Regions from separate parts of the Homo sapiens genome. Here regions 1 and 3 are each linked to region 2. Evidence: promoter capture Hi-C in 16 types of primary human blood cells and fetal thymus (Javierre and others, 2016). All regions are on one chromosome and are shown on one strand. The core of a region is centred on a gene start or on the middle of the fragment in contact, and the rest is flanking DNA. Distances in the headings are between cores, read along the strand shown. Region 1 has its middle 49 kb from the start of AGR3. Region 2 holds the start of TSPAN13 (tetraspanin 13). Region 3 has its middle 10 kb from the start of AGR3.

Region 1 (4,158 bases), core at 1,213-3,712, 180 kb before region 2:
AATTAGCTGGGTGTGGTGGCATGCACTTGTGGACCCAGCCACTTGGGAGGCTGAGGTGGGAAGATCACTTGAGCCCGGGAGATTAAGGCTGCAATGAGCCATGATTGCACTACTACATTCCAGCCTGGAAGACACAGGGAAAAAAAAAAAAAAAGAAAAGATGTTCATTCAGCTCAGCCTGAAAATATCCTCTCACTAGTAAGAGTGAAGCAGCTGCAAAGAATACCAGGAGAAATGCAAAGTTCTCTCTAAAAGCAAACAGGCCTAAACCACTCAAAGCACTCTGCACTGAATGGTACTATTTAAATAAAAAATAAATTATATTCTTCATATTGTTTCAAGCATTTATAATCATAACCAACTTATAAACCCAGAAATGTTGATCATTTCTAATGTTGAAAAGTAAACTCAACTAAAGAAGTAAACTAATTCATTTGCTATCTCAACCTATGCCTAAAAATGTTAATACTACTATTTAAATCTTAAGTATACATAATACAGTTAAATTTTGAAAATATTTTAATTTTATGTAAAAAATGTTTGCTTCTTTCATATTACTGACTAGTTCTTTAAAAAAAAATTCTAAATCTTGTGCAAGATACATATCAAGGATCTGGAAAATGTTGTCACAATCAGAAAACTGAGATTCCTATAAGAATCCAAGGGGTTTTTTTGAAGAATAAAAATAAACACCAAAAACTTTTCTTCTCCTTCTTCATGCATTGACTTCCAAGAGGAATCAATTTTGTCTTTCTTAGTAGTTACAGGGTTTAATGATGTTTCTTTCTAGTAAGAGTAAAATAAGTTACGTCAGTTAGATCAAGATTTTTAGGAAAAAATAAAGGATGGGATTCAGAAATAAAATACTCAAATGAGGAAAGGAGAAGGAAAGGCACCTTTAGGACTACAACAGTGGGCTTGGAATGAAGGTAAAAGAGAAGGTAAAAGGTAGAAAAAAACCGGAAAGAGGTTTCTATGCCATATCAGCTATGTCTGACAGTGAGAATCAAATAGGAACATCATGCTGGGAAAGAATATTCGGAAGAGAGGATATAGTTCAGGTGAAAGATCTTGACTAGCCTGAAGAATCAAAATGCCATAAGCAACAAATATAGTAAAGGCATTAATTCTTCAAAGTATTTAAAGAGCAAGTTAAGAAAGTAATACTACAGGCATAACTTGTTTTATTGCACTTTGCTTTATTGTGCTCTGAAGCTACTGTGTTTTCTTACAAATTGAAGATACGTGGCAACTCTACATGAGCAAGGATATCAGTGCCATTTTTCCAACAGCAGGTGTTCACTTTGTGTCCCTGTGTTACATTTTGGTAACTCTCAAAATATTTCAAACTTTTATTATTGTTATTATTAACTGTGATGGTGACCTGTGATCAATACTTCATATTACTATTGTAATTGTTTTAGGGCACCACAAACTACACCCATATAAGACAGCAAACTTAACAAATATTGCTTGTGTTCTGACTGTTCTACTGAACCGCCACTTCCCTGTCTTTCTGCCCTCTTTGGCCCTCCCTATTCCCCAAGCCACCACAACATTGAAATTAGGCCAATTAATAACCCTACAATGACCTCTGAGTATTCAAATGAAGGAAGAGTCCCACATCTCTCACTTTAAACCAAAAGTTACAAATCATTAAGCTTAGTGAGGAAGGCATATCAAAAACCAAGATAGGCCGAAAGGTAGGCCTTTTGCATCATTAGCCAGGTTGTGAATGCAAAGGAAAAGTTCTTCAAAGAGATTAAAAGTGCTACTTCAGTGAATCTACAAATGATAAGAAAGTGAAACAGCCTTATTGCTGATATGCAGAAAGTTTGAGTGGTGTGGATAGAAGATCAAACCAGCCACAATATTCTCTTAAGCCAAAGCCTAATCTAGAGCAAGGCCCTAACACTCTTCAATTCCGTGAAGGCGAAGAGATGAGGCAGCTGCAGAAGCAAAGTTTGAAGCTAGCAGATGTTGGTTCATGAGATTTTAAGGAGAGGAAGCCATTTCCACAACATAAAAAAGCAAGGTGAAACAGCAAGTGCTGATGGAGAAGCTGCAGCGAGTTATGTATATCTAGATAGGTTAATTGATGAAGGTGGCTACACTAAACAACAGTTTTTCAGTGCAGACAAAACAGCCATATATTGGAAAAAGATGTCATCTAGGACTTTCATAGCTAGAGAGAAGTCAATGCCTGGCTTCAAACCCTCAAAGGACAGGCCAACTCTCTTATTAGGAGGGAAAGCAGCTGATGACTTGAAGTCAATGCTCATCTGTGCTGCTGAAAATCCTAGAGTCCTTGGGAATTATACCGAATCTACTCGGCCTGTGCCCGACAAATGGAAAAATAAAGCCTGGATGACAACACATCTGTTTACAACATGGTTTACTGAATATTTCAAATCCACTGTTGAGAGCTACCACTCAGAAAAAGATGATTCTTTTCAAAATATTACTGCTTGTTGACAATGCACCTGATTATCCAGGAGCTCTAATGGAGATACACGAGGAGGTTAATGTTGTTTTCATGCCTGCAAACACAACATCCTATCTGTAGCCCATACGTCAGAGAATCATTTGATTTTCAAGTTTTATTTAAGAAATACATTTTGTAAGCCTGTAGCTCGATAGATAGTGAGTTCTCTGAGGATCTGGGCAAAGTAAATTGAACACCTTCTGGAAAGGATTCAGCATGCTAGATGGCTTTGTAAAACAAAGTGTCTGAGATAGGTCTCAATTAATTTAGAAGTTTATTTTGCTAAGGTTGAGGACATACCTGGGAGAAGACACAAAATCACAATAGGATCTGTGGTTCACACTTTTTATAAAGAGGATTTTGAGGGTTTCAATATTTAAAGGGGAAAGAGCAGGCAGAAGGGGAAGGAAGAAAGAAAAAAAAAGGGAGGGTATAAAGTGAGGTAAGCGGTCACATTGTTGTGAGGCTTTGATAAGTGTTTACCGAATCCACATGTTACATGTGAAAGGAGGAGGGAGAGGAGCAGTCAATTAAACATTTGTCTTATGCATCAGTAAGTCGGCATTTTACACAACATAAAAATAAACAGTAAAGGAAGCCAAGCTGTCAAATATGTCTTTGTCCTATACCTGTCTTTGTTCCATACCTGTGAAGATAAGCTGTTAATTTACCTTGTCAGGCTGAGGAAGGCCACCTGGGAAGATATGTGATCTTCTATCTTGCAGGTTCAGGAACAAAAGGAAAGGCAGTTTTTTTGGAGACTCAGTTTCTAAGCTTAACTTTTCCTTTTGGCATAGTGAGTATGGCATCCCAATATTTTATTTTATTTTCACACCTTTAAGAATATTCATGATTCATGGGAGAAGGTCAAAATATCAGCATTAACAAGAGTGTGAAAGAAGTTGATTCTAACTTTGATGGATGACCTTTGAGGGGTTCAAGACTTCAGTGGAGGAAGTCATAGTATACTACAATATAGTGTATACAATATGCACTGGGAAGCCAAAACATTCATGTGACTGACTTTTTATATTTCCTTATTGCACTGGTCTGGACCTGAAGCTTCAGTATCTCCAAGGTATGCCCATACATCATTTATAAAAGAAGTTCTGGAACTTGTAGAGTCAGACAACAAAATACAAACACTAGACGTTGGCAACCCTGTTCAAGAATGGCAAACTGTGGTCAATAGAACCAGTGAACTGCTTCCTTTTCTGAACTATTTAGCACCTACTTCCTCTTTTGACTCTTCAGCTCCTTCAGTGTTCCACTTAACATGTTTAACTCTCTTTTTGTGGGTATCTGAATGCCCACCAATAGATCTGAAGGTTCTAGGGGGCAAAGAAAGTGTCTTCTTATTCTTCCATCAGTCTTTGCAGAGTAAAAGGAAATGGTATCTGTTTGGTGCTAGCGGTATCCCTTAAAATGTTGATAGAGAAAAGTATATTTTACTTGCCAAGATATCTTTAAGATGAAAAGGAAAATGTTTGATGTTCAACAGATGTCTAGTGACTGAACTTATTACTTATATCAAATCAATTTGAGAGATTTGAAAAACTAAGGGGAAAAAAAATAAAGATGGAGGTATGGACATTGTACCAAGTCCTTGGTAAACATAATCTGATTGGATCATGATAGAAGTACCATATGCATGGTGTCATCTCTCATTCGAA
Region 2 (3,845 bases), core at 813-3,312:
CTAAATACAACTAAAAATGATGTCTAGAAAGCAAGGAACTTCATTTTAAAATAACTTGCCTTTTTAAAAAAGATTATACATTGATATAGACCCTTCAGTGAAGTAAGTATGCAAAGTAGACATTCCACTCTGTGTAAGCAGGCACTGTAAGACTAAGTGTCTGGCAAACAGATGACTAAATCATTGGCAGAAAAAAAACAGAACTCAGGTCACAAAATAAGGAATTTAAAGTTCCAAGCAGGCCACTCACACTGATTTAAAAAAAAAAAAAAAAACCCTAGAGAACTGGTCAGCATTTACTTAATAAACAGCCAGGGTGATAAGCATACCTCAGGGTGATACAGATGAATTTTGATCTGAAACTTGACATGTATCTCCAAGGAACTGTATCACCAGGTGTTCTAAAATTTTTTTCCCAAGTCTACTATTAATGACCATGTTGACCAGATTCTTACTAACTAGCCATAAAAGCGTACTCAATGCCTGTTTCTGTCTTGCCTTCAAAGCTTGCAGTCATGTTCACATACAAAGGAACAGTAAAGGTAAAATGACCCAACCTCCTTCTCCTGTTGGTGACCACAAGGCAGCCTCTCTATTCCAAGGAGGTAATCTAAGCTTGCACAGATGGCCTAGCTCTCTGCTAATGCAGGGGTGCTGGGTTTGTTTTCAGGGTGGGTGCTGCAAAGCGCCAGGTATATTTATAGAAGGGAGCAAGACTACTATGGAGGGATGATGACAGAAGAGGAAGTTTCTTCCGCCCGGTAGAGACAGCCTGTGGAAAGATCTGGATTCCACAGCCTAGGTTCCACTCCTGACTCGTCAACTACCAGCTATGTAAACTTACTAAAACCTTTTTGGTCTGTTACCTTATGTATAAAATGCAGATAATGCCCCATTCCCTCAGAAGGTTGTCAGAATGATGAACGAGCATTGTGTATGTAAAACCTGGGACGTGATAGGCATTCAATAAATGTCGATCTGTCCTGCCCATCCTCCTGTTCACCCAGAATTGCGCCTCAAAAAATCACAAAGAGAGCCTGCAGCGTTAAAACTAAGAGGCCCAAGCTGGTTGGCAGGGAAAGAAACGACTTGGGTGGGGGCTCGCTTATTTCCTGGAGGACTTGGTTTAAAATGGAGTTAGGATATTGATCATGGACAAGACACACAGAAAAAGCACCAAGTACTAGCAAAACTGACAACAACAAAAACAAAAAGACATCCCTTTACTGTGAGCACGAAACAAACTTCGGAAGCAGCGGACATCCTGTGAACCTACTCAGTGGCCTCAATTAAAATCCCGAGGGTACCAAGAGCTAACCCAGAGGCACACCAGCCATATGCCGCCTCGTCAGTTTCAGGCCACGCCATTCCGCAAAACTGTCCGCAAGCCCTGACGGCTCTCGCGCCTCCACGCCTGGCCCAGATGCGTCTGGATGTCAGGAGCGAGCGGCAGAAGGGTACGGGGTGGGAAAGCGGAGAGGTCCGGTTGAATGTTTGAAAAACAAGGCGGTGGGTGAGGGGGCGGGGTGGAGCAATGTGGCAGAGACGCGGCCAGCGAGCCTGAGAGACCGCGGCTTCACAATGAACGAAAGGAAGAGACTGCGACAAGCGCCGGCGCCCGGTCCCCGGCGGGGACGGATGGTGAGGCCGGGGGCGCGCAGACGTGGGAAGCCGGGAAGGGGGCGCGGGATGCAACGAGTGAGTCGCTGACCAGGCAGGGAAGCCAAAGAGCTCCCAAGCAGGTGCAAAGCCCCCAAGCGAGCAGGAACGGACTGGGGATACTCACGGTGTAAAGCAGGTTGAGGGCGCACAGGCAGTTCTTGGAACACGCGAAGCCCCCGCAAACCATCTTGGAACCTGTGGTTGCCGGCAGCTGCACGTAAATTCGACTCCGGCGGAGGTTCCCTGACAGCTGCTTTGTCCTTGCCTTTGGGGCCTGGCCCAGGCGGGGCAGCAACGCAGACGTGGGTGGGGGGCCGGGGCCTGGGGCTGCAGTGCGCGGCGCGCGCGCGGCGGCGGCTCGGACCCGCTTTGGAACCTGCGGCCGCCGCAGCTGAGCCGGAGCAGGAGCCCGAGCCCCGCCCAGCCCCTTCGTCTCGCCCCGCGCGCTGATTGGCCGCTGGCAGGGAACAAAGGTAGAAATATGCAAATAAATGCGCTCCGCCGACCGGGATCCGGGAGGGGCGGAGCGGTCCCGGGGCGAGGGGGAGAGGGCCAAGGCCGTGTGGGAGGGAGCCCCAGGCCAGAGCGGCGGCCTTGGTGTAGTTTCCCCAGGAGCAGGTGAGGAGGGAGGGCGGGGCTCGGAGGAGATCCACGCTGGCAAGGAGAAATATGACAGCACCTCTGGATTCTTGGCCCTGGCAGATGACGTGGCACCATTTTGAATGAGATTTCAAAACTAAGCACCTGGCCTTGTTTGAGGGAAGGAAGGCAGGAAGCAAGTAATGAATGAAAACATGTGAAAGATTTAAAAGAGAACGAAGTAGAGGCAAATGAAAGGGAGAAAATAAGTGAAACAATAAAAAATAAAATAAAATCCCTGCTTCTCTCAGAAAATAAGATATGTGCCCTATAATTGTGACCTGGACAGGTCAGACTTATCCTACAAAGATTTGCAAAATACTAATAAACTTTATGAATACATGCATGCAAAGGAAAATCAAGAGCGGGAGAAGGTGGGGATGGTTAATAGGTCCAAAAAAATAGAAAGAATGAATAAGACCTACTATTTGATAGCACAATAAAGTGACAATCGTTAATAAGAACTTAATTGTGTATTTTAAAATAACTTAAAGAATGTAATTGGATTGTTTGTAACTCAAAGGATAAATGTTTCAGAGGATGGATACCCTATTCTCCGTGATGTGCTTATTTCACATTGCATGCCTGTATCAAAACATCTCATGTACCCCGTAAATATATACATCTGCTACGTGTCAACAAAAGTTTTTTAAAAAATTTTAAAAAGAAAATCAAGAGAGATTATTTTTGTGTTCTGGTCGTGAATTTCAATAAACTTATTTTTTCACAAAAATAACTGAAAATCTTCAAATAACTCAGACTTCACCTCAATTAATTCATTATCAGTTTACTGCTTCTCTACTATAGAAATGCATCTTGTATCCTTAATTCCTCACCTATAAATTGAGATTTTAGAAGTATGTCAAGCACTTTTTGCATAGTGGCTGGCACAGGGGAAGGCCTCAATAAATGTCAGCTAGTATTCATAGATCTGACATTTTGTAAAGGCCTACTGTGTTCCAGGCACTAAGCGAAGGCAATAAAGGTTTATTTACTTCATAGTAGTTTCTACCAAAGAAAAAGGTTTTATAAAGAGATTTGCAAGTTTACAATACTATATCTAACCTAAAGGTTCATACGGAGTAAATTATGTAATTGCAAATGCTAAATTGTATTAAATTAAATTAAACATTGCAGCTGATTAAAATAATTCGTCTTCTTAGAATTCTCTGCTCCCTCTTCCAGCCTCTCCTTCCCTCCCCTGACCCCACCATACCAACAAGACCTCATTAATTTGTTAGGCTTTCTATTCCACATTAACCTTTTATATACAGCTAGAAATATTTCAAAAACTAACCTGGAAAATGATCCTCAAACACAAACAATGCTTTGATGATGCTCAACTTTCCTTTTTAATAGCCAGAGGTTTACAAAAGATGAGGCATTGGCAGGGAAATCTATTCATTCTCTTCCCATTCCTGGGTGTCACCAACATTAGTACCACTTCAACTATCACTCAACCAACTATTGCAACTCTCTCTTTGGCTTCTGCATAATATCTTCACTATCTCCCTATAGGCTGAATCACTTTGTTTTCCCAGAGA
Region 3 (3,939 bases), core at 935-3,434, 140 kb before region 2:
AATCTATACAGACAGAAAGAATAGTGGTTGTCTAGGGTTTAGGGTGGGCCATTGACTACAAAGTGGCACAAGGAAATTTTGGAAACTGATGAAAATATTCTGTATCTTAATTGTGCTAGAAGTTACATAAGACTTTCTTCAAAAGTCTTAGAAATGTAATTTTAAATGAATGCATTTTATTCAAATTAAATATCATTAAAGATGTAAAAGTATATATGTGTAAGTGTGTGTGTATATATATATATATTTGTATATTTTTCTAGATTCAAATCATGCCACCTTCAGTAACATCATAGTTAAGTCAGTCACCTGTTGTTGACACTCATTCTGGCTCCTCATGTTTTCTGCCCCATACAGACAAAAGTCATTGCTATATAAAAATAGCTACTGGTCATTTTGCCCTGTGGTCTCTCAGATATACCAAGGTGACTTTGAGCACCTTCTTTCTGCCGAGCCTCCTTTCCCATGTGCACTCAGTCATCATTTGCCTACCATTAACAGGGAATACTAATGAAGTGGAAAGGGGCAGGATATATGGATAGTATGCAGCTCTAGATTTAAGTATTGTAGTCCCTCCTTCTCATTTGCATCCCATCCAAGTTACATTACTCTTTGTCCTTTGCTTCTCACTGTGTTCTGACTCAATAAGCCACATAGTTTGAGGTCTTAATTTGGTCTATGAGACCTTGGATCCTGACTTCTGAAACAGTAGCATTGTTAGAAGCTATCATGGCATCATGGTAATTTCTCATCTTGACAAGACTACAATCTAACTATACACTGTGAAATTCAAAGATGTACAATGGAATCAACCTTAAGAATTGGAATTTTTAAGACATTTGAACAAAAAAAAATACATGTAACAATGAAATAGAGAGAAAACCCCTAAGTAAAAGTGGCCAAACAATGAGAAATAGTGGAATTAAAAGAAAGTAATTTCACATAATAGTAGAAAAATACAGTTCATCGTGACATCAATATGTCTCTGGTATTGGTGAGACAAGGTCCCCAATCATGATGATAATCAGTGATTGTTACAGTTATAGTGCCAAATATTAATAACATGTTCATATTTTTAAATTGTATGCTCCATTCACACTTTTGTCAGTGAACACTTGGCATAATTAAAACAGCGTGGCACAGACACATTGAGATATACATAGGTAGTAGTCCTCTTTCTTTCCATTATAAAAACAGCAGTTTTAATGCATGCAAAGATTAATATAACCCAGATAATTTAGCTGTAAGTTTCGTTCTGAATCACCAAGAAAATGGTACAAGTATTCAGAAGAACAGCTTAAATAATTACAGTAAATTCAAAACATTACCAAAATCACTGGTCTGAAATCAGTCATAGGTCCGTTTCTTCTCAATGAGAATAATCTACAGAAAACAAAAATATCAATCAAGTATCAAATAAGAATTAGGTAACTACTATGGGCTCAGTAATCTAAGCACTGCATACGATGTGAAAACACCTTGAACATGAAAACTGCCTGCTCTTAGGCCCTTGAAATCCAGTCTTTCTTCTTCAACAAATCTACATGAAACAGTTTACATATATTGCAAACTGGTGCATTAATTCTCATGTAGAGCAAAGGAAAAAAATCAGGACACTTTAAAACAAACTTTGTCACCAATACTGAGAACCCCACTCCTATCCCCAGTATCAGTCTACTAATTCCTGGGATCACCAAGGTAATGTAGTTATGTTAGACACGAGTCTGCCTTTCTGAATCTTCTGAGCTGTATCTGCCTCTTGATGCCCATCAGAATCAAGGCCTTCATCACAGCTTGAAAAAAGAAGATGTAGACATGTAAAGACCAAGCTTCTCTCTGCATATTTCATAAAATTTCCCTCCATGTGGGACCTTCCCATCACTAAAGCAATGTAAAAATTAGCAGCCCAGACCATTATCAAGAGGGTAATGAGAATGAACTTTGATACTTGTACTTGGAACCTAAACCAGAGATCTTGTGGGCTCTTGATAAGCCAAGTTATATATACACAGGCTGATATTCAACCAATAGATACTGGTACAGTCATCCCAGTTATTAATATGTCAAAGTACTTCCCTCAGGAGTTGATAAATAGGTACTGCAGCAGTTGTTCCCCATCAGGTCCTCCCTACACCCATATGGAGCACCCTTATTTTCCCCTGGAAGCCCTAGCCATCGCTAGATTTAATTCATTGGTACCTATGCTGCATCAATTGTTAGATATTCTGAATCTATTCCAATAGTGTGTGCCAGTTCACACACATAAAAAGATATATTTAATATAATATCCCTTGGGAGGATGGACTTTTCAGTTCACCCAGTTGCCTAGCAATAAATGGAAACATTAGTTGGGTCCCCTGCCCTCCAGCTGTTTGTAGATATTTTGCTTAAGTAAACAAATGTGACTGTACCTGGTAATTCTACTCTTAACACACAAATACCAGTAACCTGGGGTTCTTCACATCTTTAAGCAAAGAAACTTTGGAAACACCTGATAAAGTTTATAATTGAAGAATATTTGAAAGACAACTTAAGCTTTAAGCATTAAGCTCATTAGAAGAACTAGACTTAGTGATCTGGTCCAGTAAAATTCTCGTTTAGAACCTATTAGGAATATTCTGCACTGAAAATCCTTGGGGGCCTCTATCAGTTCTATTATCTATTAGGGGAAGAAATACCAAGATGTGCAAAGTGGTTAGGAGTTGTTCCTAGTCAATGTCTTAGGAAAATGAATGCAGCTGTCATACATATATTAAAATTCTCCTTTTTCCCCATGGCAAGGTGGATAGGCAAATCATATCACAAGTTCTTATCCAGGAACTTTGCACCACAATCTAAACATGTCTCTTTCCTCTACCATGTTCAAGTTTCACTTCACTGCTAGGTTGCCCGCTCTGCTTTCCTTTGATTGTAGTGACATCTAATGTCAGAGTCAGAGAGTAGCTCAGCTCAGCTCCTGTTCAGTTTCCAAATTGACTCTTCAGGTTGTAAACCCACCTCCTCGGCAGACAGACAGCTCACTAGGATAATTTGTTGGGCCAAGTAAAACATGAACAAAACTGAATTAAACTTGTTTAAATTGAAATGCAATTAGTACTTGAATCATGAATTTTCAAAACTGGCTCCTTCTCCTCTTGAGAGAAGTCTACCCTCTAAAAAATCATGTTTTGGGAAAATACCTAATACATCAGTCCATCTTATTGCTAAGAGAGTTTTCTCACTAGTTCCTGGGCTTAGTGGGCTCACTTGAATAATAGTTATATAATAAATAAGAGAAGCTAATATTTATTGGGAACTCATCAACTATCATTTTTTAAATACTCATTTATTTTCTCTTCCAAAAAAGGGAGCAACTTGACCTTTGTATTTGCTGTCTTATCTTCATTAACTACCAAAGAGCCTGCTCTAGGGTAGGCCCACATGTTTGGGAAGGTACTGCCTGCTTTCTGTCACTTTTCATGTTCTCTCACATTTCATCATTACAACACTTCTGTGCGATAAATATTATCAACATTTCTATTTGCATTAGTAATTTCTCTGTGGTCATGGTGGCTACTGAGCAGGATTGGAACCCAGACATCCTAGCCCCAGAATAGAAGGACCACTGGAGGCTGGATGCTCAGGGCAAATGGCCCCATGATCACTTCTCCTCGCATAACTAACAAGTCATGACAATTGTTAAGGCAATGACAACAATGTTAGAGGAAGTATCACAAAAGGTGGGATTGAAATCAGTGGTCACACTGTGAAGTAAGGTGTGAAAAGAAAATTCTCTTTTCGTGTTCATGCTTGACTAGAGAATCAATTCCTTGTCATGATCCCCTATGGGCCCACTCCTCCAGATGCCAGAACCTGTCTACTCTCCTTCTCTAGGACTCCCACTCTTAACTACTATGCATACTGACTTCCATAGTGGAAAGAACACAAAATTTGGGTTCA

The links. The method cuts DNA at HindIII sites, captures the fragments that hold promoters and counts their contacts. A CHiCAGO score of 5 or more calls a contact.
Region 1: a contact is called between a fragment that was not itself captured here and the fragment with the promoter of TSPAN13 in region 2, in 1 of 17 cell types (total B cells). The highest score is 5.1, in total B cells.
Region 3: a contact is called between a fragment that was not itself captured here and the fragment with the promoter of TSPAN13 in region 2, in 1 of 17 cell types (naive B cells). The highest score is 6.7, in naive B cells.

The regions. Positions count from the first base shown.
Region 1 is chr7:16,928,882-16,933,039 of GRCh38, reverse strand. No RefSeq gene overlaps it. Among named protein-coding and RNA genes, the nearest start is that of AGR3, 49 kb to the right of the region's middle. RefSeq lists an enhancer at 3,587-3,636. The HindIII fragment of the contact is 1,598 bases long and covers 1,664-3,261 here.
Region 2 is chr7:16,751,972-16,755,816 of GRCh38, reverse strand. TSPAN13 (tetraspanin 13) reads right to left here and starts at 2,062. Exons shown (of 6, transcript NM_014399.4): 1 at 1,787-2,062. The coding sequence starts at 1,849. The HindIII fragment of the contact is 13,671 bases long and covers 618-3,845 here.
Region 3 is chr7:16,890,507-16,894,445 of GRCh38, reverse strand. No RefSeq gene overlaps it. Among named protein-coding and RNA genes, the nearest start is that of AGR3, 10 kb to the right of the region's middle. RefSeq lists a silencer at 2,787-3,081. The HindIII fragment of the contact is 706 bases long and covers 1,832-2,537 here.